Regions from separate parts of the Homo sapiens genome. Here regions 1, 3, 4, 5, 6 and 7 are each linked to region 2. Evidence: promoter capture Hi-C in human tissues and cell types (Jung and others, 2019). All regions are on one chromosome and are shown on one strand. Each heading gives the region's core, a stretch centred on a gene start or on the middle of the fragment in contact. The rest is flanking DNA. Distances are from core to core; before and after follow the strand shown. Region 1 overlaps ENOX1 (ecto-NOX disulfide-thiol exchanger 1). Region 2 holds the start of ENOX1 (ecto-NOX disulfide-thiol exchanger 1). Region 3 overlaps ENOX1 (ecto-NOX disulfide-thiol exchanger 1). Region 4 overlaps ENOX1 (ecto-NOX disulfide-thiol exchanger 1). Region 5 overlaps ENOX1 (ecto-NOX disulfide-thiol exchanger 1). Region 6 overlaps ENOX1 (ecto-NOX disulfide-thiol exchanger 1). Region 7 overlaps ENOX1 (ecto-NOX disulfide-thiol exchanger 1).

Region 1 (3,654 bases), core at 740-3,239, 500 kb after region 2:
TGGAATTGTAACCAAAGTGTGGAATTGGGAATTCAGTTCCAAGATGTTAGATGGTTAGTTAAAGACTATGTTTTCTCCTCTGTTTAACAAAGCACCCTGAATAGTCATCAAGGGAAACTTAAACAAGTTAGTGCCCAATCTGGTCCTCACTTTACAGACCACCCATCTCACTCAATTGATCAGTGAATACACCCTGCATGGTCAAGTTCTTATCTATGTGCAGCTTCTTCCATCTGGTAATTACTGTCTGGTTTTTGTACTTTCTGTTTCTTCTCTCTGTGTCTCTGACTCTCCTTCTCTACATATTTCTATCTCCTCTTTTATAATTGCCTCTCATTACCTCTCCAGTTTCCAGTTTTTGCGCTTTCTGTTTCTTCTCTGTGTCTCTGTCTCTATTCCTATCTCCCCTCTCTCTCTTACACACACACACACACACACACACACACACACACACACACACCTTTAACAAATAGCCACAACAGCCTTATTTACTGGGGAAGAAAATAAAGAAGAAAGTATATTTGAACTTTGTCAGTAAGTTTCCAAGGAAGAGTGTAATAAGTAGCGCTTATAAATGAAAGACCAACACAGTGACTTTTCAAAGAGATAAAAATAAATTATCATATTTTCTTCTTCCTTTTGTTCTCTTAATTCATCCTGCTGACCCACCAGACAACTGCATTCTATTTTTTATGCCCTCCACCACCATTACCATCTTAATTTATTTTAAACCAGGTATCACTCAGATTCAGTCAGAGTGGCTTTCGTTGGCCAGCTTTGGAATTCTCATTCATGGTATTAAGATATGTATATTTCCACCCATGATTTACATTTTATACTGAGTCATTTGCTGAGTCAGTGTGTTACACATTTTTCAGTCATTTAAACATAGGGTGGTATGCCATGATTTTGTTCTCTCATTCTCCGTGCACCTTGTCCTCTTCTCTCTGGTGTTTATATTTCTTTCCTAACGGTTTGTATTTCTTATCTTCAGTGCCACTTAACTTCACTTTCAGGAAGTTTTTGTAAAGGCCTAACTGTGAAGTCCATAACATTGTAAATATATACTACTATAAGCTCAATATGTAGGACATATAAAGAAAATCATACTTTTCAAATATACTGGGAACATTTACAAAAATTAATCCCATACTAGGCCTTAAAGCAAATCTCAACAGATGTCAAAAGAGTGGTATTGTATTTTTTTGACCACACTAAATTGTTAGAAATCAGTGCCAAAAATAACTAAAATAAATTTTGTATATCTGGAAAGTTTAAAACATACATCATTTTTACAGCTTCAAAAAGAAATCAGAATTAACTTAAAAATACTTAGAAGTAATTGATAATTAAAACATAATATATCAAAACTTGTGGGACGCAGCTAAAGCAGAACTTAAAGGAAAAATTTAAAACTTTGTTTTAGGAAAAAAAACTAGTAACAGTGAGGTAAGCATCCAATTTCTATTGAAAAAAAAATAGGCCAGGTACAGTTGCTAACACTTGTAATTTTAACACTTTGGGAGGCCAAGGCGGGAGGATATGCTTGAGCCCAGGAGTTTGAGACCAGCCTGGTCAACATACTGAGACCCCATCTGTACAAAAAAAAAAAAAATTAATTAGCTAGGCATAGTAGCACGTGCCTGTGGTCCCAGATAACTGGGAAGCTGAGGTGGGATAATTCCCTTGAGCCTGGGAGGTCAAAGCTGTAGTGAGCCATGATTACACCGCTGTATTCTCCAGCCTGGGTAACAGAGTGAGATCCTGTCTCAAATAAACAAACAAAAAATAATAAACACAAAGTAGAGGGGATAATACAAAGAATAAAAATAACTAAAATAGCAACCAACCATACAATAGAGAAGATCAACACAGCCAAATGTTTGAAAAGATGAATAAAATGGAAAATCTTTGGCAACATGTATCAAGAAAAAAAGAGAACAACCTAAAAACAGTATTAAAAATAAGGTATAACTATAGATGCAACAGAGACTAAAGAAATATAAGAATATTAGGAATAGTTTTATGACAATTTTTTAACTTTGGAGATACAGACAAATTTCAATAGGAAAAAATAACTAATCAAAACTGAATTGGAAAGAAATTGAAAGCTCGAATTAATAGCTTAAATTTTTTTTTTTCTTTTCTTGAGACCGAGTCTCGCTCTGTCACCCAGGCTGGAATGCAGTGGCGTGATCTCGGCTCACTGCAACCTCTGCCTTCTGGGTTCAAGCGATTCTCCTGCCTCAGCTCCCGAGCAGCTGGGACTACAGGTGCATGCCCAGCTAATTTTGTATTTTTTTAGTAGAGATGGCATGTCACCATATTGGCCAGACTGGTCTCAAACTCCTGACCTCGTGATCTACCCGCCTCAGCCTCCCAAAGTGCTGGGATTACAGGCATAAGCCACCGCGCCTGGCCAATAGCTTAAAATTTTATATCAAAGCAACAGACCCAAAATTGCTTTATAGGCAAGTTCTACCAAACATTTAAGAAAAATAATACCAAGGGTGGGTGTGGTGGCTCATGCCTGTAATCCCAGCGCTTTGGGAAGCTAAGGCAGGCAGATCCCTTGAGCCCAGGAGTTTGAGACCAGCCTGGGTAGAATGGCAAAACTCTGTCTCTATAAAAAATTTAAAAATTAGCCAGGCATGGTGGCACATGCCGGTAGTTCCAGCTACTCAGGAGGATCATTGAGCCTAGGAGGTCGAGGCTGCAGTCGAGCCACTGCATTCCAGCCTGGGCAACAGAGCAAGACCCTGTCTCAAAAAAAAAAAAAGAAAAAAGAATACCAATCTTTAACTAACTCATTCAGAGAACACAAAAGGAAGACACACTTTCCAACTAATTCGTAAGGCTAGTATACTTAATACTGAAATAAAACAAGGACAGTTAAAAGTTAAAATCAAAAAATTATAGGCCAGGCTCAGTTATAAACAAAGATTTATAATTCCTTTAGAAAAGCAAAATTAATCTGGTATTTTATAAATCACCAAATTGGATTTATTCTAGGAATGCAAGGTAAGTTCAACATTTGAAAAATCTATCAATGTAATAGATCTCATTAACAGGCAAAACCAGAATAATACAAACATTTTGATGGCCACCAAATATCCATTCATGATTTTAAACTAAAACAACCAAGAAAAATGAAGGTTTTAACAACTTGGAATAGAAAGGAACTTTCTTATCCTGTTAAAGGTTATCCCCAGCAACCTCAGTGACAAAATGTGATTTTTTTAACCTTCCCAGATTAATCCCGATATAATCTCTTTCAATCCTCATATAATCACTTGGACTAGAATGCAACTGATTTATGTCACTTGCTTTGTATCATGATTTACATTTTCAAATTGTCCCTGGAAGCAGAAAAAGATTGCTACATAAAGTCTACCAGCAGACCCTAAAAACGTGGTCTCCCTATTCTTCCCTTTTGAAAAGTCATCAACACTAACCTTGGTGTTATCCCTCCCGTATTTCTACAGTGAAAACTTAAATACCCATATATCACAAATGATCATCTTTTTTGTGCCATCACTGTGAGCAGCTGGACTTTCAGATGACTTCAGCAAAACTTGTGATTGGAAATTTTCACGGGTAAACATCACATGCAATGTTAAAATGTATGCAATTGCCAACTGAGAGTAGGGGGAC
Region 2 (3,548 bases), core at 968-3,467:
TTCTAAGAAGATTGTCAATTGAGTGAAGGTAGATAAATCAGTTAAAGGGACCCCCACTAAAGAACACACGGTACCCAAATAAATCCATTTTAATTTTCACTTTATTTCAGTTATATTTCACAGCTGTGGTATCATGAGTGGAGAGAGAAGCAGCTCATAGGCGGGCCTGAGTTCAAAGGAATTGAAATTTAGCATGAAATGCAAAATTGAAGACTTCTGCTTCTAAGACGATGATTGTAGAAATACCGAGGTCGAAGGATGTGGACTTGGTGCTACACCAGACAGCAGAATTAGCAGTCTGGGGTGACCCTGCATGTATTGGTCAGTGTCCATGAACACTACTCTTTACAGGAGAAAAATGCGTACCTGATAAGCTATTAGAAATGTGTATTTCTGGCCTGGAGCGGTGGCTCATGCCTGTAATCCCAGCACTTTGGGAGGCCGAGGCAGGCGGATCACTTGAGGTCAGGAGTTGGAGACCAGTCTGGAAAACATGGTGAAACTGTGTCTCTACTAAAAACTAAAAACTAAAAAAAAAAAAAAAAAAAAAAAAAAAAAAAAATTAGCCGAGCGTGGTGGCCGGCGCCTGTAATCCTAGCTACTAGGAGGCTGAGGCAGGAGAATTCGCTTGAACCCGGGAGGCAGAGGTTGCAGTGAGCCGAGATCGCGCCACTGCACTCCAGCCTGGGTGACAGAGCGAGGTTCCGTCTCAAAAAACAAAAAACAAAAGTGTATTTCTCTTAAAACTGTTTTCCCCATCCTTCTGCTCTAGAAGGGACAGTATAAACTGCTGGTGAACACTGACTTTCACATTTTGAGAGGTTAGGTTCTGAGCTTTGGCCCCCTCACACCCAGGGCATCCCACTGGGGTCCCTGCAGAGTGCTTCTACATGCATCCTTTGTTAAGGGTGCACAATGGATAAGTATTATTTTCTTTCTTTGCATTGGGGTTCTGACCGCCAGGGGGAAAAATAGCCACACACAAGGAAATGGCATAAGTTAAAATCAGGCAAGCCTAGTGGGGTGGTAATGACTTTCCCAGCATCCAAGTCTTTGCCTTCAGGTTACGTGAAGCTAGAAAACAATGTCATTCATTCAACATTTACAGGGAACTCACAAAGTACAGAGTACTATGCTAAGCACTGGAAGGCATGCAAAAGTGTGCAAAACACAATCCCTGCATTGAGGATTCCTGCCAGAAAGGGTATTTCAAGTATTACCCAGACCTTACGACCCTTGAAGAAATGCTTGTGTGAATAAAATCCCACTCAGAATTTAAAATAAGCAAGGAAAAGTATACTACTAAGACAATATATCTGTTAAGAGGCAGAGAATGTAAATGTGCTTTAAACATTTATTTCTGAAGTATTACAATGTAGTTGGGATGGAGGATCGGGGGATGTGGGTGTGTGTGGGGAGGTGGTGGGAGCGGTTCTTGGACGAGCCTGACTCTAAGGAGGCACTGCTTAGATGCCTGCACAGCTAAGTTGAATCCTAACAAAGAGGAGGCCGGCATTCTTACCTGGGAAGTGGGTAACTTTGAGAAAAAGTAGCCTCCAAGGAGGAAAAAAAGGCAACATGTCACCTGGGGTTAGGATCCCCTCACCCTTACCAACCTGAATGCTGACCGCACCCCGGCCGAGCCACTCTGGGCCGCACACCCCGCATCATCTGCCCAGGCCACGCGGCCCAATTCCACCGTCTACCCCAAGCCCACAATCCTGTAACACGCCCGCTCCAGCCTGGAGTCGGCCACGTGCGCCCGGGTTCTTCTCTTGGCCCTTCAGCGGGCCCGGCCCCTCCAAGGTCGCCGTAGCAACCGTGCGGTCCCTCTCTCGGTTCCCCCGCTCCCAGTAGAGCAGTCCCGACCGCGGCGGCGGTGGCGGGAGCGAGCGGCCTCGGCCCCTCCCGAGAGGGGGCAGCGCGACCGTGGGCTGCGGGCGCCGCCTCTGCTGCATCGGTGGCTGCGCGCTCCGCTCGGCTCTGCCGGGCTGGGATCCGGAGCCCTAGCGCGCCTCGCTGACTTCCCCTCCTCCTCTGCTGCCGCCCCGTGGGCAGCTTCTCCAAGCGAGACACGCGTTCGATCCTCCTTCCCCGCGTTTACGGATTTCCGGGGTCGTAGAATTTTGCCTCGGTCCCTACGAGCATCTCTCGGCCTCTCTCCCCCTCCCCTCGCGACTCCCCCACCCCGTGGGCGCGCGCGCACCCATACACTCACACTCGCAGGCGCGCGTGCGCACGCCCGCGCGCCTCCAGCCGCGGAGTCTCCAGCGCCCCTCAGCAGATCCCCGCTCTCCCGGGCGCCGCTACTCACACAGGCTTCCAGCCGCCACGGGGCGTCCTCTGTCTGCTGCAGCGGCGGCGGCAGCAGAGGGAACGGCGACTGCAGCCCGGCCGCGTCTCCCAGCTCCGTGCCCGGGACAGAGTCCGGGAGAAGCAAAGGAGGAGGAGGACGCCGAGGCTAGGAGGAGCCGCGCCGCGCCCGGCGCCCCACTCCGCGCAGCGGGTTGCCTCCGCTCCCCATACGGCGGCCCCAGGTAAGCAGCTCCGGGGCCCGCAGCCTCCCTGGGGCGTCCGGGCTCCGAGCCGGGGTCCTCTGGTCTCACCCCCGCCACGGCACCTGGATCTAGACTGAGAGGGGAGTGGGCGAGGGGGGAGGGGAGTGGAGCTAGAGGTGAGGCTGGTGAGGAGGGGTGCGTGGACGCGTGGGGGCTTCGGTGCAGCCCCCACGCCCTTCCCCGCCGTGCCCCGTCTCAAGCTCCCTCACTTTTACGCGCCCGGGGGTGCCCAGCGCCCCAGACAGCTGTTCCCCGCTCTCCCCTCCGCCCGCCAGCCAGTGTCAGCTCCGGGCTCCGCGCCCGCCGCGCGCCAGTCACCTCCCCTGCACCTTGGACAGCGCACCCCGCACCCGTCTCCCCCTGCGGGCGTCGCCCCCGGGACCCGTTCCTGCCCACACAGTGTTCCCGCTGCCCTCTTCTTTCAGGTTTTCACCCTCCCGCTCTGCATCCCTTTTCCTCCAGCCTTGGCGGACTCCGCTCTGCTGCGGGCCGGAAACTTTCCTCCCCGCCTAGTCTGCGCTGGGTACTGTTGTTATTCGTGACTGTCCCCTCTCGCGGGGAGCTCGGACACCTTGGACAGGTCTTCGTCGGCGGGAGCGCGCCCTGCCTGGCCCAACGCGAGGTAAAGGAGGCACTGGGGCAGCCGGACTCGGCCGCTGCCAGGGTGCAGAGCCCGCGCCTCGGCCGCTGGACGCCGGCCGCCTCCCCGCCTCTCCGGACCCGACACGTGCGAGCCTCCCACGGACGCGGCCCCTCCCAGACCACCCCACGTCCTCCCCCTGCACGGCCACAGCCACCCCATAGGTTGGACACCCGGGGCTCGCGGGTCCTGATTGGCTGAAGGCGTAACCCCGCCCTCTTTCGGAAGGGGGGTGGTTCTGGAGTGTTGTGGTTGTCATCCCGCGGCGAGCACATGGGGAAAGTGGGGTCGACAGGTGGGCAAGCCCAGCTCTGTGGAATCTCTGCGTCTCACTGTATAGCCACTGAGCC
Region 3 (3,383 bases), core at 392-2,891, 370 kb after region 2:
ATTCATAATTGCTTAAAGAATCAAAGAGTTAATACATAAGCATACCTACTTCACAATTATCTATATTGTTTTAAACCGTGGAACATTTCCATAACCTCGAGAGTATGGCACTGACTATGTGAAGATCGAAGTTAGGTATTTCCTTAGTGATGGAAAAGGAGAGTGAACTTTGGAAGGAAATGTATCTTTCTTTTTACTGTAAATATATACCATGATAATGCTAATGGAGAGTTCTTATAAAATAAGAAATTTGCTGATACCATATGAAATAAGCTTCCTTTGGTATCAGCTCTTTTCTTTTTGAGATGGAGTTTCACTCTGTTGCCTAGGCTGTAGTGCAGTGGCTTGGTCTTGGCTCACTGCAACCTTTGCCTCCCAGGTTCAAGCCATTCTCCTGCCTCAGCCTCCCAGGTAGCTGGGACTACAGGTGCACGTCACCACGCCCGGCTAATTCTTGTATTTTCAGTAGAGATGAGGTTTTACCATGTTGGCCAGGTTGGTCTCAAATCCTGGCCTCAAGTGATCCACCCACCTCGGCCTCCCAAAGTGCTGGCATTACAGGCATGAGCCACCGTGCCTGGCCTGGTATCAACTGTTTACAAGACATTAAGAAATCTGATTCTTTCACCACAATTATTTTGTTATTGAAGTAGGTATAAACCTAAGGACTTAGACCAAACAAAATCATGCTTTTTTTTGGTTTTGTTTTGTCTTTTTTTAAGACAGGGACTCAATCTGTTGCCCAGGCTAGAGTGCAGTGGCACAATCTCAGCTCACTGGAACCTCTGCACCCCTCACTCCCCAGCTCAAGCAATCCTCCCACCCCAGCGTCCTGAGCAGCTGGGACGACAGGAGGGCACTACCATGCTTGACTAACTGTTTAAGGTTATTGTAGAGATGAAATCGCCCTATGTTGCCCAGCCTGGTCTCAAACTCCTGGGTTCAACCAATCCTCCCACCTTGGTCTCCCAAAGTGGATTATAGATATTAGCTCCTATCTGGGGTTGTAGATATGAGCCACCACACCCAGCCTTTTTCTTTTTTTCAATAAGAAGGATTTTTCAATACCTAGCTGATCTCTACCCTCCTTTAACAGGAATCTGTGTTTTGTGGACAATTACAGGTAGGTTTTATTATTCATGATGTGTGCATCGCTGATACCTATAGAAATTGTTCAAGCGATTCTCCTGCCTCAGCCTCCCGTGTAGCTGGGACTACAGGCACCCGCCACCATACCCAGCTAAGTTTTGTATTTTTAGTAGAGACGGGGTTTCACTATATTGGCCAGGCTGGTCTCAAATTCCTGATCTTGTGATCCTGCCACCTCAGCCTCCCAAACCTGTGCCATTTTTTAAGCCAAATAGTATTTTCATAGACTTGATAAGTTTCAAAAAATATTTGCCCCATTATCTAGCCCAATGAAATACTGAACATAAATATATTTTGTTGAACAGTTATGAAATTGGTATGAGATTTTATACTTGAATATATCTTAACAGGAAACAAGTTAGATATCTGTTAAGGCCAAACAAAGCTGTACTTTTATCCTTGGCATTTTGTGTATCAGATTGTTTTGTGGTGCTCATACTTCATTAAAGCTGTAAGTAGAAACTGCCAATTTCATAATTGGTCATGAATCTCTTGAAAGTTTTTGTAGTTGCATAGGCAGAAAAAACCTAGAGAGAAAATATTTATACATCTTTTAAGTTACATCGTATTATTTATTTTTATTTATTTTTATTTTTTTGAGACAGAGTCTTGCTGTTGCCCAGGCTGGAGTGCAGTGGCACAATCTCAGCTCACTGCAACCTCTGCCTTCTGGGTTCAAGCGATTCTCCTGCCTCAGCTTCCCAAGTAGCTGGGATTACAAGCATGCACCACCACACCCAGCTAATTTTTATATTTTTAGTAGAGATAGGGTTTCACCACGTTGGCCAGGCCAGTCTCGAACACCTGACCTCAGGTGATTGGCCCGCCTCCACCTCCCAAAGTGCTGGGATTACAGGCTTGAGCCACTGCGCCCAGCCTTAAATTACATTATATTATTTTATGTATTTACTTTTTTAGAGATGGAGTCTCACTCTGGCAACTAGGCTGGAGTGCAGTGGTGTGATCTCGGCTCTACAACCTCTGCCTCCCGGGTTCAAGCAATTCTCCTGTCGTAGCCTCCTGAGTAGCTGGGACTACAGGCATGCGCCACCATTGCTGGCTAATTTTTGTATTTTTAGTAGAGACAGGGTTTCACCATTTTGGTCAGGCTGGTCTCAAATTCCTGACCTCAGATGATCCACCCGCCTCGGCCTCCCAAAGTGCTGGGATTACAGGTGTGAGTCACCGCACCTGGCCTACCTCATATAATTTTATAAAGGAATGGTGGAAAATGAAATATTGTGCTCCAACTGAGGTGTGGCACAGAAAACTAGGGCAACACTTACTTTTAGAAATATCAAGTGTTACTCACTGTTTTAGAATTAATTACATAATTATCTACCAGAACACAAAGATCCCAGGGTATCTTAATGGAAACACTACATTTCCAAATAAAATAGTAATAATTATCACCTACTGTATTCAGAGTGCTTTATTAGCTATAATTTTTAACTCCCCACATCTCTGTGTGTAAATAAACATCGCTAAGAAGATTAATCTTTTCTATAGTTTAGAAATAATAAAACTAAGGCAGAGAAATTGATGTGAATGATAAATTAGGCATTATGGTCTTGAATCATTTAAAGAGGCAGGTATTCAATAGGAACAATAGATGCTAACAAAGTACCAAAATCATTCTTGCAACTATTCATAAATTACTAGTTGGTAATTAATTAAAAGTATTACCTTTCTTCCAAAATGAGTGACCGAATCAACTTAAATTTTGTGAACAATGTCACGGCAGCCTTGAGACTATTGGAAATTCCTAAGATGTGACAGAGCTTACTTTAGAATCACCATCCCAGGCACATGGTAGCCACAGTAAGTTGTATGTCATTAAAACCATTAGATTGGCCCTCTCCCTCTCCCTCTCCCTCTCCCGTCTCCCGTCTCCCGTCTCCCGTCTCCCGTCTCCCGTCTCCCGTCTCCCTCTGTTGCTGAGGCTGGACTGTACTGCTGTGATCTCAGCTCGCTGCAACCTCCCTGCCTCGGGCTCCCCTGATTCTCCTGCCTCGGCCTGCCGAGTGCCTGGGATTGCAGGCGCACGCCACCACGCCTGACTGGTTTTTGTATTTTTGGTGGAGACAGGGTTTCACCCTGTTGACCGGGCTGGTCTCCAGCTCTTGACCTCGAGTGATCTGCCCGCCCCGGCCTCCCGAGGTGCTGGGATTGAAGACGGAGTCTCACTCACTCAATGCTCAATGTTGCCCAGGCTGGAGTGCAGTGGCGTGATC
Region 4 (3,320 bases), core at 409-2,908, 400 kb after region 2:
CTTGTTCCTACTGTGCTTGCCATAAGGAGGCAGCTTAGAGTAGCTGCTGTCATTCATTCTCTACAAATGTTATTGTGTCAACAAAGCTGTGTTAATAATAATAATTGCTTGCATTTATTGTGTATGTGCCAGGCATTTTTCTAAGCATCTCAGTCCTTATCTAATCCTCACCCAGTGAAATCAGTGCTGTTATTACTTCATTTTTAGGAATAAGCACACCAGGGCACAGAGAAGCTAAGTAATCTGTTTGAAGTCACACTGTTAGTGAGTGGTGCAGCCGGGATGTGAACACAGGCAGTCCGGCTTCACTGCCGATCAGTCTCATGCATTGTGTCCTGCTGCCTCCCTGTAGTGGCAGCCTTTACATTCTGGGACACTTAACTTAGAAAGGTGTGAAAACACCTGCTGGAAGGAGAGAAGAAGGATGCTCAGAATTGAGAGTCATTAACCTGCAGGGTGGTGTCCAGAAGGAGAAAGCCATTGCCCAACAAATTCATGCATTCTACTAGCAACATACTGGCTTTGTATTTCTTTCAATAAAGAATCTCCACAGTGCCAGGAGAATTCCTGTTGATGGTAATGGTGTCATTGCTCGTTCTGCTGAGAATCCTTTCTGTAATTGCAGCCCTATAAACAACAGCAGCAGGAGGCCATGAGGGAAGTCTTTGTGGAGAGTACCATGGGGTCTGTCGCCTTTGAGTAAATAGACCCTATTTATTGAGCATGCAGAATTTATTTAAAATACCAGTTGTAAGGGAAGCAAACAGAAGCATACATGGATTTCCTATGGATTGCAAACCCAAAATAATAATAGTGCAATATTAATAATACTTACACTAGCTTTATCTTAATATTCATTTTAGCACCCAGAATGATGTTTCTCTCCTCAATTCTATTTTAATCTGAAATATAAACAGCTGAAGGTTTGCTTGCCTTGAATCATTATTACCGTGAAGTTGAGCCATCTGTGTTTTTCTTATTCTGCTCATGGCTCCAAGGAGAAGTCTTGAAATTTAACAAGTTGGGAGAAGAATTTCTGTGGAGTAAATTCAGATATACAATGACACCTAAAACCCTGCAAGTTTTTATCTTATTTTGGAGAAATTTCCTCGCTTGGATTGTGTTGAGAGTGAGAATTAGCATCACTCTACCAAATCATCGACAGTCTTCAAAACCCTTTGAGGTCTGGTACCATGTTTTATGCTAGATTTTGTTCAGTTCATCCATAATCCCCAATATGCTGCTTGCTGACTTCTAAAACTATAGAATTGGCATATAACTGGCTGTGTTTGTTTAATTTGAGATCTATTAAGTATCTCTTGTTAGGAAACTAAAAAGCTTTATATATGCATATCTGATGCTTTTAAGTTGCTGCCAGGGAGGACAACCATGCCCTCCTATCATGCATTCCCTAGTTGAAACCAAGACCTTGGCTGGATATAGCTTGGTTCACTGTGGCAGTGTTTTCGTTTTTACCTATGACCTAAAGTATCTGTTATATTTTATAGCTTTAATGAATTGACATACAATAAATTGTACATATTTAAATTCTACAATTTCATAAGTTTTGACATATGTATATACTTGTGAAATCATCACAATCAAAATAATGGACATATCAGCCACACCAAAACATTTCCTGTTCCCTTTGTTATCTCTTCCTCCTACCTACTCAGACCCCCTTTCTTACTCATCCCCATCCTGAGACAACCACTGATCTTCTGTCTCTACAAATTATTTTGCATTTTCCAGAATTTTATGTAAATGAAACCTATAGAATGTACTCAGTTTCTGGTTTCTTTCACTCAATATAGTTATTCTGAAAGTCACGCATGTTGTCATATATCCTGATGGCTGAATAGAAATAGAGTGGATATCCTTGCCTTGTTTCTGACCTTATGAAGAAATACCATTTTAAGTATGATCATATGTGTAGTTTTAAAGTACATAACCTTTACTGAGGAAATTTCCTTTGATTTTTAGTTTACTGAGAGAATGGATGTCAGATTTTCATCAGACGCTTTTTCTGCATCTATTGAGATGATCGTGTGTGTGTGTTTCTCTTTTTTAGTCTACTACTTTGGTAAATTACGTGAATTACTTTTTAATGTTAAACCAACCTTGTATCTCTGGGATAAACTACTCAGTCATGATGTATTATTCATTATACTATATTCAATTTGCTAAAATTTTGTTTAGAATTTGCATCAAAGTTCATGCTGAATATTGTCTATAGTTTTTCTTTCTTCTAATGTTTTTATCTGATTTAAGTAACAAAAGTAATGCTGGAATCATAAAGCAAATTGGAAGGTATACCCTTTAATTTTCTGGAAGAGTTTGTGTAGAATTAGTATTATTTTTTCCTTAAGATTTAACCTCTACTAGAGTAGGATTCTCTAGCAAAGTCATCTAGGCATGAAGTTTCCTTGTGGGAATAATTGTAACTACAAAGTCTACTTCTTTAATAGATACAGAGCTATATAGATTATTTGTTTTTCTTTCAATGAGCTTTGGTAATTTGTGTTTTTCAAGAAATCTATTCCAAGTTGTTAAATTTATTGACATACAATTTTTGTAATATGCCTTGATATTTATGTATGGGAACTGTAGTTATGTTACATTCCTTATGTCTAATATTAGCAGTTTGTATCTTCTCTGCTTTCCTGCCTAAGGCTGGCTGGAGTTTTATCAATTTCATTGATCTTCACAAAGAACTAGCATTTGGTTTCATTGATTTTCTCTATAGTTTTTCTATGTCACTAATTCCTGTTCTTAATTTTTTTTTCTGCTTATTTCAGGCTCAATTTGCTCTTTTTTTTTTAAGGTTTTTTTTTTTTATAAGATAGAAGCCATGGTCATTGATGTAAGACCTTTCTTCTTTTCTAATATAAGCATTTAGTGCCTTAAACATTTTTAAAGTACTGTTTTAGCTGCATATCATGAAATTTTATTTTAATTCACAGTACTTCTAAATTTCCCTTTTGGTTTCTTGTTTGACCTACAGGCTATTCAGAAATGTGTTATTTATTTTCTAATTATTTGGTGACTCTCTAGATATTTTTCATCACTATTTTATAATTTAATACTATTGTGGTCTCAGAATACACTTTATATGATTTGTGTTTTTGTAATTTTATTAAGGTTTGGTTTATGCCCAGAATATGGCCAATCTTGATAAATATACCCATGTAATCTTGAGAAGAATGTGTTTTCTGGTTTTGTTGGGTGAAGTACTCCATAGATGTCAGTTAGGTCAAATTGGTTGATATTATTTAGATTTTTATATCCTTACTGATTTTCTATGTACTTGTTCTAGCAAT
Region 5 (3,129 bases), core at 264-2,763, 350 kb after region 2:
TTAGATATTTATTCCCTATTTTTAATTTTATTTGCTGATGTAAGGGGCTGTCTTACATAACATAAAAATTTTGGGAGTCAAAGGTTTCCTCGAGGTAAAAAATATACATATATATAAACATGTTTTGCCTATAGCTGTATGCTTTTGATTATTTCTGAAACCATTTTCTGAATCTATAATACACTCATGGATGTACCTATAGGCATATTGAAAATAATGCATTGTGGCTTCAAATGTTTCACCAGAAAAATCTGGCTCGTTGCTCATTTATTGACTGAACGTGTGTGTTTTGCTAGGTCAGTGCTTACATACACGATAGTGAACAAAAGAAACAGAATGCTTGCTTTCATAGAACATCAGTCTAGTAGGAGGAATAGACATTGAGAAAAAAGTAAATGAAAAATATGTAAAAGCACACAAAAAATGTTAAAGAACGAGTTGCTATAAGAAGGGATGTTCATCAATAATGTAAAAAAATATAAGAAAAGATTGAATTTGAGTGAGTCCAGTAATCTCTCAGCCAGTGTTCTGTCTGCAAGTTGAAGCCAGGAACACTATAACATCACATTTGTGGACCCTTAAGATTAGAAGATAGGAAGGCCAGGGACGGTGGCTCACGCCTGTAATCCCAGCACTTTGCGAGGCTGAGGTGGGCAGATCACGAGGTCAGGAGCTCGAGACCAGCCTGACGAGCATGGTGAAACCCTGTCTCTATTAAAAATACAAAAATTAGCCAGGCGTGGTGGCTGAGGTCAGAGAATCACTTGAACCTGGGAGGCAGAGGTTGCAGTGAGCCAAGATCTCACCATTGCACTCCAGCCTGGGTGACAGAGTGAGACTCCGTCTCAAAAAAAAAAGTGAAAAAAAAAATACAAAAAAATTAGCCAGGTGTGACCCACGGGTGCCTGTAATCCCAGCTACTCGGGAGGCTGAGGCAGGAGAATTGCTTGAACCCGGGAGGTGGGAGGCAGAGGTTGCAATGAGCCGAGATTGCACCACTGCACTCCAGCTTGGGCAATAAGCATGAAACTCCGCTCAAAAAAAAAAAAAAAAAAAGATTAAAAGACAGGAAAGTTCATTTAGTAAATTTCTCACACAATAATACACTGTTGAGCATAGAAAGTCAACCAGCTGCTTCTTCAAAAATTTCAAGAAGCCCTCTCCTTCCCTTCCTCCTTTTAACTAATCACTCAAAGAGCTATGGATCGACTGTATACTACAGTGGCTGTCAGATTTGGATGCATATCAGAATCTCCTTTGGAGCTGTTTTAAAAAATGCCTGCACCTCACATCAGATCCACTAAATCAGAATCTCCTGGGGGTGAAGACCAAGCATATGCATTTGGAAAAGTCTCCTCAGGCAATTTGATTCAAGTCCAATGCCCATCAGAGGTTGAGAGCCACTGTGTGCCAGGCATACAACATAGCTTTGTGGCTACTGAGGGAAGCAAATAGCCATCCAGGGGACAGATACATTTTTGTATGGTTTGTAAGTTTAATATTGAAGCATTTGATTGCTCTGTGGAAAACTTACATTTTCCTCCTGAACTAAACTAATCCTTTAAGTGTTCTTGTGCCATGGAAATCCCTATTTTTATCCAACAATTCCTTTGAGGTGGAAACCTGGGATTCATTTTTGAATGTTACCTTCTTGGGCCCTCACACATGTCACTCACTCCCTCTCACTTCCACATTCCAATTGCTATCTCTTCTGTCTCCAGAAGTACCTCTTAAATCTGTTCCCTCTCTTCATCTCCGCTGCCACTGCCTCATCTTGTCTGGTCTCCCATAATTACCTCCAAATAGATTTACCCTCCTCAGGCTTGTCTTCCTGTAGAGCTTACTCTGTACTTCTCTAAGAATTATTGCTCTAAATTACAAATTTGACCCTGTCACTCCCCATTTAAAATATTCCATTTGGTCTCCATTGCCTGTAGGAATTAAACTCCTTAGCATGACCCCTGCCTACATTGTTAGCATCGTTCTCCACTTTTTCACCATGTTCCCTTTAAACTACAGCCAAACAAAAATACTCATTTTCTGTATCATGCCACATACTTTTCACACAGAAGTATTTTTGATCATAGTGTTGTCATGCCTGAAACACATTTTAAGGTGTTTTATTATCCCTCCCCACCAATTTTTTCCTCTATTTAACCTTGGAGAAAATCTAAAATTACCTTCAAAGTTAATTGTTTTTTCTTCTGTGTTGTTTCTGTTAACCTGCGTTTTAATGCATTTACCCATTTATCTGCTTTATACTGACCTATTTTTCCAGGTCTCCCTTCTTTGGAGTGAGTTTCTTGTTCACCTAGAATTTAAAATGGTGCTGCACACAGTGGAAGTTACTAAATATTCACTGAATGAATGGGAAAAAGAATGGATGACCCTGAAATCGGTCCGCCATAAACCCTAACCATTGGCACTAAGTCCATTCTTTGGCGTATTGCTTAACTAATCTAGTTCACCTTCTATATCCGCTTTACTTCTAATATGTGAAAATCAGTCTCATCCTGTATCTTTTGCCCCAGGTCACAAACCTAGTAAGTTGTCATTCTAAAACTGGCACCAACTCTTTGGAATTCCGGTAGTCATTATGGGTCATTTCCATAGTTGCACTAAGTTCTCAAGGTCAAATGATTGAATCCCGATAAAGTTGCCACAAGCTCAGATTTTCGGGAAAGGAAAGTGGAAGCATTTAACCTAGTGTCATATTATGTTGGTTGCAGGATTGGGTCTTACTGGCTTGTTCTGTGAATGTCTGATGCTAGCTCTGGGTTGGTGAGTAAATCCCCCCATCACCACGTCAGGCTGAAATTCCATGCGTATTTTGTTTATTCTACCCTTCCCAATGTGCGGATTATTTTGCTTGCAGGGGTGGATTCACAAAATGGGAGTTGAACAGTTCTGTCATCTTTGCTATTTATTGTTAATGGCCTTCCCCAAAAGTATTGCTATTTTTCCTTGTTCTTCTTTTGAAGACTTTAAAAAATATGTTCTATAAACATCCCTTTGGTATGTTTTTTCAAAATGTTCGATCCCAGTCCTGTATTTAGGCCTCTTCAGCATTCTTCTAGGAATTATTCCCACACACTGGTGTTTGTCTTTACCCTCGTGTCCTTGGTTCCA
Region 6 (3,359 bases), core at 228-2,727, 390 kb after region 2:
TTTTCTGTCTTCAATCAGTTAGATATGAAGAGTAACTATGACCTCCAGCCCCCTTATTTGACATCCATGATTTATTTTTCTCATAATTGAGCATTATATTTTCAGATTCCTTCTTTTTTAAAAATGTATCTTCCCTGTCTTTCTTTATCATGGTTATGCTTTCATCTACCTTCTTGCACAGATGGAGTATATTTATAATAGCTGTTTTAGTGTGCTTATCTACTGATTCTATTATCTGTGACATTTCTGAATCTCTGTCTTGATTGATTTTTATCTTTATGATAGGTCTTATTTTTCTGTTTCTTTGCATGCCTACTAATTTATTATTGGTTGCCAGACGTTGTGAATTTTATGTTGTCAGGTGCTGGATTTTTTTTTCTTTCCTTTTTTGTCTTCTTTAAAATATTTTTAAGTTTTTGTTTGTTTGTTTGTTTGTTTTGAGATGCAGTCAAGTTCCTTGGAAACAGTTTGATTCTCTCAAGGCTTTGATTTTATACTTGGGTTAATGGATCTAAGCAGCCTTTAGACTGGAGATAATTTCATCCGGTTTCTGAGGCAAAACACTTCTGGGAACTCTTTCCTGGCATATTGCGAGGTTGCTTCTCTCTGGATCTCGAGAACTTGAGCTACTCCCTGTCCTTTGTGAGCTTCAGAAAGGTTCCATCTGTGGCTTTTGCCCCAGCCTTTGCACTTCCCTCTCCGTCTCTCCTAATCAACATGCAGCCACAGACTCTGAGGGGACCTCTGAAGATCTCCAAAGCTCTCTCTCTCTGATTGGCTCCTTCCTCTCTTGTACTCTGCCCTGAAATTTCCAGGGGCATTGGTTTCCCCAGATGTCTAATTCAGACAGACCTCAGGCTCTGTTCTGGTTTCTCTTCCTTGCATTAAGCCCTGGAAACCTTCTAGACAGTGGCTGGGACTATCATAAGTTTCACTTCATTTATTTCCCGTCTCTCAATGATCACTATCCTGTACTTTTTGTTGTACAGTATCTGAAAACCGTCATTTCATATATTTTGTTTGATTTTTGAGTTGTTTAAAGTAGGAGAATAAATTCTATCCTTGTTACTTTCTGGTGGCTGGAAGCAGAAGTTTACAGACAAAGTCTTTTTAAAGTGAATGTATGTATTGCCTAGGGATATAAGAAGTTAAAGATCTGGGGCTATGATATGAGTGACTTTACTAGGAACACTAAAAAGAATAATAATAAAACCTATAATTATTTGGCACCTAATATGTGCCAAATACTCTAATATCTTGCATCATTGAATCCTCTGCTAGCTAAATATTATTAACCCCATTTTATAGATGAGGGAACTGAGTTTAGGTGATGTGAGTTAACTCACCCAAGGTTACTCAGCTGGAAGGAAACAGTGCTGGAATTGATAACCAGGTCTATCTGCCTAAAGTGTTTCTACTGTATTAGGATTTGGGGGCAAATGATTAAAGCAAAGTCTCCTACGTTTTTTGCCTAAGGCCAGCTCTATCTTTACACTTTTGTTTTTAAAAATAAATACCTTGGGTGGAAAGACATCATTCGTGGTGGGGGTAGGGGAGAATCATAGAGATTTATTTGTATTACATTGAAATTTAAAGATTTCAATTATGTAATTATTATGCACATCACTTTTTGTTGTCCTTGAATGCTGCAGATTTCCATTTTCGAACCTGGGTCCTGTGATCTAGATATTGTACTAAAGTTGAACCAGGAACAACTTAGTAACATCAAGTAGACTTCTATGAATAACACTATGGTGGTCATGCACTCAGGTTTATGACAATAACCAAAAAGTGATCATCAGTATGGGAGAGAATATATACATTGCAGTCTGAAAGCAAGTAACACTCTCTCAAAGAAAACAGAAACTTGGAATTTTTAAAGTTTAACACAAATGAGATGGACTTGAGTCAACCTATGTACATCCTGCATGGGAAGTCCAGAATGCAGAGCAGGTGGGATTGCTGATTTGGTAACTCAGGTGGAGGGAGTTCCTGGCTAATGGATTCCATTTCTCAGAAAAGGACAGGCATCTGCTGAGGATAAGTGGGCTGATGAGGAATGGAAGGTTGGAAGAGAAGGGAGAACCCTTGAAGGTTTCACTGGGGGAGAGACAGGAAGCTGACCAGAAAAATATGGTAAAATGTCTGGACACTCTTTGAGAGCCCTGCGTGGTTTTCTCCAGCACTGTTGTGTCCTCCCAGTAGGCAGGCACAGAGAAGGAAGTTCTCTGTGGGTTTATCCAAGGTTGGATTTTAACAGGTGGTGAGAATGAAAGGACAAGGGCACAAAGAAGGCATGAGCATTTTCAGGAGAGTAATTTCAGAGCTGGACTACACACTCCTACAAGAGTGGCAGTGGAGCCATGAAAAAAGGGGTGGGCTGATGAGGCAAGAAAGTGGAGGGGTGGCTGGATGGGCAGAGCTGAGGATGGCAAGCAGAGGGTTGGAAAGATGGGAAAGTGCAAGGACAGAGGGGCGTTAGCCTATTACAGCAGTATGTGGGGATCCTTTCTGTGGTCTTTCAGGAGAAAAAATTTTTCCTTCAACATTGAGGAACTGTCTCTGCAAGAGACAGATGGTGGCTTTAGAGCCTGAGGTCTTAGGTTTGAATCCAGGCTTGTTCCCTTAGCTGCGTAAACTTGGGCAAGTTAGTTAACTTCTCTGAGTTTGTCTGTAAAGAAGGAGGGAATAATCATCATCAGAGAATTGTTACCTTTTCTAGAATCGGTGAAGTGTGGTACATATTATAGGGATCAAATGTGTTAGTTTGTGTTACCCTCATTGGAGAGCAGTTTAGGAAGGCACGGGGAAGGGGAGAAGAGTGACCTTGGATGACTTTCTATTTTAAGGGAATGAAAAGAGAAGACTTGGCCCCTGTAGAAAATGATCCCCTTGTCCTGACATCTCCTATTGGAGGAGAAGTGACAACCATTCTCTGCAAGCCACGTGGAAGCACCCACATGTACCCAATGCACACCCACAAATCATAGCTCTGTGACACTATAGCTGACCCTTGGACAAAGCCAGGATTAGAGCTGCTCACCCCCACACAGTAAAAAACTTACATATAAGTTTTGACTCCCCCAAGACTTAACTACCAGTAGCCTGATGTTATCCAAAAGCCTTATAATAGCGTAAACAGTTGATTAACATATATTTTATATTTATGTGTATTATATGCTATATTCTCACAGTAAAGTAAGCTAGAAGAAAAATAAATGTTATTAAGAAATGATAAGGAAGGGGCTGGGCCCAGTGCCTACAATCCCAGCACTTTGGGAGGCCGAGACAGGTGGATTGCTTGAGTCCAGGAGTTTGAAATCAGTCTAACCAACATGGTGGTAAAACCTACCTCTGAA
Region 7 (3,183 bases), core at 9-2,508, 330 kb after region 2:
CTACATAGTTGATTCATGTTACTTATTGATTGCCAAAATTGCCAGAGGTACCCTGGTCATTCAACTGTCTTTATAATCAAGGCAAATCCACTATGCAGCAATTCAGTCAATGGTTTGGTGTTCATCTGTCTAAAATGTTGATGGTACCACATAGGGACAAGATAAAATAGCTCATTTCATTGAAATCGTAATAGATTTTTCTCCCACTCTAAAATTTGTATGCTGCTATAGGAGGGAGCATCAATCAATCAAAATTAGCACATATTCTGTTGTTCTTTTCTTCCTTAAAACATTTAGCTGAAGTTGTAGAAACTCAGAGAAACATATGTTAGAGTGGGAAGTCGCAGAGCAACTCATCCAGTCTTTTCCAAAGTATGTCAATAAATATTACCTGAAAGAAAAGAAAAAAGGGGGAGAGTCTGTAGTCAAGTAAGTTTGTATAACGGAAGGTAAAACAAAATGGGACAGATACCTTGAATAAACTCATATGTGTTTCAAAGCTTCAAGAATGGGGAGGGGGAGGTGTGAGACGATCGAGGTGTGTTTCAAAATCATCTAACCACAGAACTCTTTGTCCTGAACACTTGGAGGGACTTCATATAACCTCCTAATTTTGTAGTTAAATAGAATTCTAAAGGGGTCAAGAAACTGATGCTGGGCCAAATATTTTCCTTTATTGTTTTTGTCCAGTCCTCCCTTTCCCCTACTTATATAAAAGTAGATAGCAATATAATGATTTTCTTAATATAATCAATATATCAATATAATGATTTTCTCAATTTTCTGTAAGAGCTCTGCACACCCCTTTTCAGTGGCTAACTGATGCGTTGCTTCCAGGTGACCAGCTTACCAGTGATGCGATGCCTAAAAAATGGAAATGAAAAATTAGTCAGTTGGAAAAGATGTACTTTTAGACAGCTTAAGGTTTCAATATCATCTCATATTCTGACTTGAATAGCTTTTTTTAATTGGGTACCTACAGTATGCCAGGTGCTTTATATGCATTGTATGATTTAATTCTCATAAAATCCTGCAAAATAGAGAATATGTCCATTTTCCTATCGGGGAGTTTATTTAGTAAATGGAAGACAGGGGATTTAAAATAAGGTCAATCTGACTGTAAAGTCAAGCTTTTTGTTAAGCTCAAAGATATGATGATGGCTACATTGGAAGTGATGTTGTTGACAACATAGTTAACTTTTTTAAAAAAGTTATTGGTCCATAATTGAGTATGACAGAGGATAGAGGACTACATAATTTGAGCTAGACAAATTTATAAGAAATATAAGCAGGAAAATAAACATATATTCAAGTAAAAGGATTACCTGCAAGCTAACATAAATTTCTTTGGGAGATGAGGGGAGGAATACACACATATATACCTTGGTACATACATATACACATATATTCTTGAGCCAAAAAATAGATATATTTCAGAGTGGTAAGAGTCAGTATATAGTTAGAAGTTGGTCTGGACATGTAATTGTGAAAAATCATTATGTGATAGGTTCTGTTGCAGGCTATACTGCTTTTCATATGCATTTTGGGTACATTTTGTTGACTGATAAAACGTAGTTTGACCATTAACATTCAGTGACATAAATTGCTTAACTGCCTTCCAAGTCAGTGATCATTGTTTGGAATTATCTTAAAGCCAGATGATTTTCCGAAATTTATCTTCTTATTTAGTGAACATACATAGCTTTTCTTAGTATAGTTATTTAGTTGGGCCAGTCTTCCTGCTGTTCTGTTTTAAAATCTTTTATGTCTGTTTCCTTTTTCTCCTTCCCCCTCCCTCCCTTTCTGCTTTCTTTCTTCCCTCCTCCTTATAGTCTTCCTTCCTTCTTATTGATAAATTGATATGCGTCTACCTCAAATTGATTATTTGTCCAAACTTCTGGAGCCAAGATAACAAAATGCTGTTATCTGGATAAAGATAACATTTATGGAAAGTCAACTTGACCTTGCCTGATAATCCCTAAAAAATAACAAAGAAGTAAAATGATTTTGTCAATACCCTCCTTAACAGTAGTTGTGAGGTGGTTACTAGTTTGTCCAAGTAACTCATAAAGTTCTCTGGACAAACAAACTAGACCAAAACAAAATACATAAGTACATATAACTACAAAGTAAAATGTATAACACTAGAAACTTCTGGTTTTATTAGATTGAACACATGCTTTCATATCTTCCTGTTCCAGAAATCTCACTAAAATTAGTAAAGAATAAAAAATAAATCTCATTAAAATTAGTAAAGAACAAAAAATAAATCTCACTGAAATTAGTAAAGAATTTTAAAAACCACAAAGCAGGGACACAAAGCAAATGAGAGAACAGAGGAGAGGCTACTGAATGTGAGATATCAGGCAATTTGTGGAAGACAGCAGAGTGATGGAGGAGGAATAGCTGAGGTGCACTGAGCAAAGCCTTCAGATTCATGCACGGGATGCTGTGGAGGCTTAGGAGTCATGAGACTGGAAAAAGGAGAATTGATTGCCAGGAGCTTCAGACCAACAGAGTATATGGAGTAGTTAGGCCCTGCCCTCCCTAGCTCACACTGACTCTACCAATTCCCCAACCCTATGTGAGGTATCAGGGATAGTCTTAGGCTACATTGAATCAGAGATACTCTAGACTCAGGGATTGGGCCCAGGAGAGAGGATGAAACTCCACAGAGAGAACAGGTGAAACCCTCCTGGACTATTCCCTGACATAGCTCCCAGGGAACCTACAGCTAGGGACTGGCTCCTTAGGCAGGGGTTTGGAGATTCTTATCTGCAGAAACTCAGTCCAAAAAATGACTGATTGGCAGAGTCCCTGTTGAAATGGTTAGATTCCCCACTCTGTTACCTCGGAGGGATGCCAGTCAAGGAAAAAGCACACCCTGTCTACACTCAGGGTTTCCCTTGGAAACTAGACCCACTGTTTTTAAATATAAATGAATCGTTTGTTTCATATATAATGTATATATATGAAATAAACATATATATTTCTTAAATATAAATGAGTAATGAAGGGCCATCAGATATTTGAGGATATCCACTGACATAAAATATAGAATAAAATATAGAGATCAAAACAGAGAAAGGGGCTAAAGGAGCTCAGAGAAGATATAGATATTTCAGGAAGCAAATGAAAGCCTTTAAAAACCTATAGTAACTTCAGAAAGATGAGAGATACTGT

What was found. The method cuts DNA at HindIII sites, captures the fragments that hold promoters and counts their contacts. A contact is called where the count stands out against the background at its distance.
Region 1: a fragment that was not itself captured here is called in contact with the fragment with the promoter of ENOX1 in region 2 in 1 of the 25 tissues and cell types used here (mesenchymal stem cells).
Region 3: a contact is called between a fragment that was not itself captured here and the fragment with the promoter of ENOX1 in region 2, in 1 of the 25 tissues and cell types used here (lymphoblastoid cells).
Region 4: a contact is called between a fragment that was not itself captured here and the fragment with the promoter of ENOX1 in region 2, in 3 of the 25 tissues and cell types used here (hippocampus, lymphoblastoid cells and mesenchymal stem cells).
Region 5: a fragment that was not itself captured here is called in contact with the fragment with the promoter of ENOX1 in region 2 in 2 of the 25 tissues and cell types used here (dorsolateral prefrontal cortex and mesenchymal stem cells).
Region 6: a contact is called between a fragment that was not itself captured here and the fragment with the promoter of ENOX1 in region 2, in 3 of the 25 tissues and cell types used here (hippocampus, mesenchymal stem cells and spleen).
Region 7: a contact is called between a fragment that was not itself captured here and the fragment with the promoter of ENOX1 in region 2, in 2 of the 25 tissues and cell types used here (dorsolateral prefrontal cortex and mesenchymal stem cells).

What each region holds. Positions count from the first base shown.
Region 1 is chr13:43,281,578-43,285,231 of GRCh38, reverse strand. All of the region lies in intron 12 of ENOX1 (ecto-NOX disulfide-thiol exchanger 1), which reads left to right. Among named protein-coding and RNA genes, the nearest start is that of ENOX1-AS2, 170 kb to the left of the region's middle. The HindIII fragment of the contact is 6,665 bases long and covers 1-3,654 here.
Region 2 is chr13:43,785,641-43,789,188 of GRCh38, reverse strand. ENOX1 (ecto-NOX disulfide-thiol exchanger 1) reads left to right here and starts at 2,217. Exons shown (of 17, transcript NM_001347969.2): 1 at 2,217-2,537. The HindIII fragment of the contact is 9,406 bases long and covers 1-3,548 here.
Region 3 is chr13:43,416,890-43,420,272 of GRCh38, reverse strand. The region is part of intron 3 of ENOX1 (ecto-NOX disulfide-thiol exchanger 1); the gene reads left to right. Among named protein-coding and RNA genes, the nearest start is that of ENOX1-AS2, 30 kb to the left of the region's middle. The HindIII fragment of the contact is 4,481 bases long and covers 1-3,383 here.
Region 4 is chr13:43,380,989-43,384,308 of GRCh38, reverse strand. All of the region lies in intron 5 of ENOX1 (ecto-NOX disulfide-thiol exchanger 1), which reads left to right. Among named protein-coding and RNA genes, the nearest start is that of ENOX1-AS2, 66 kb to the left of the region's middle. The HindIII fragment of the contact is 4,530 bases long and covers 1-3,320 here.
Region 5 is chr13:43,436,969-43,440,097 of GRCh38, reverse strand. All of the region lies in intron 3 of ENOX1 (ecto-NOX disulfide-thiol exchanger 1), which reads left to right. Among named protein-coding and RNA genes, the nearest start is that of ENOX1-AS2, 10 kb to the left of the region's middle. The HindIII fragment of the contact is 6,833 bases long and covers 1-3,129 here.
Region 6 is chr13:43,398,972-43,402,330 of GRCh38, reverse strand. The region is part of intron 5 of ENOX1 (ecto-NOX disulfide-thiol exchanger 1); the gene reads left to right. Among named protein-coding and RNA genes, the nearest start is that of ENOX1-AS2, 48 kb to the left of the region's middle. The HindIII fragment of the contact is 5,494 bases long and covers 1-3,359 here.
Region 7 is chr13:43,456,138-43,459,320 of GRCh38, reverse strand. All of the region lies in intron 3 of ENOX1 (ecto-NOX disulfide-thiol exchanger 1), which reads left to right. It overlaps ENOX1-AS2 (ENOX1 antisense RNA 2), which reads right to left. Exons shown (of 4, transcript NR_120399.1): 3 at 851-864; 4 at 1-391. Among named protein-coding and RNA genes, the nearest start is that of ENOX1-AS2, 8.9 kb to the right of the region's middle. The HindIII fragment of the contact is 4,663 bases long and covers 1-3,183 here.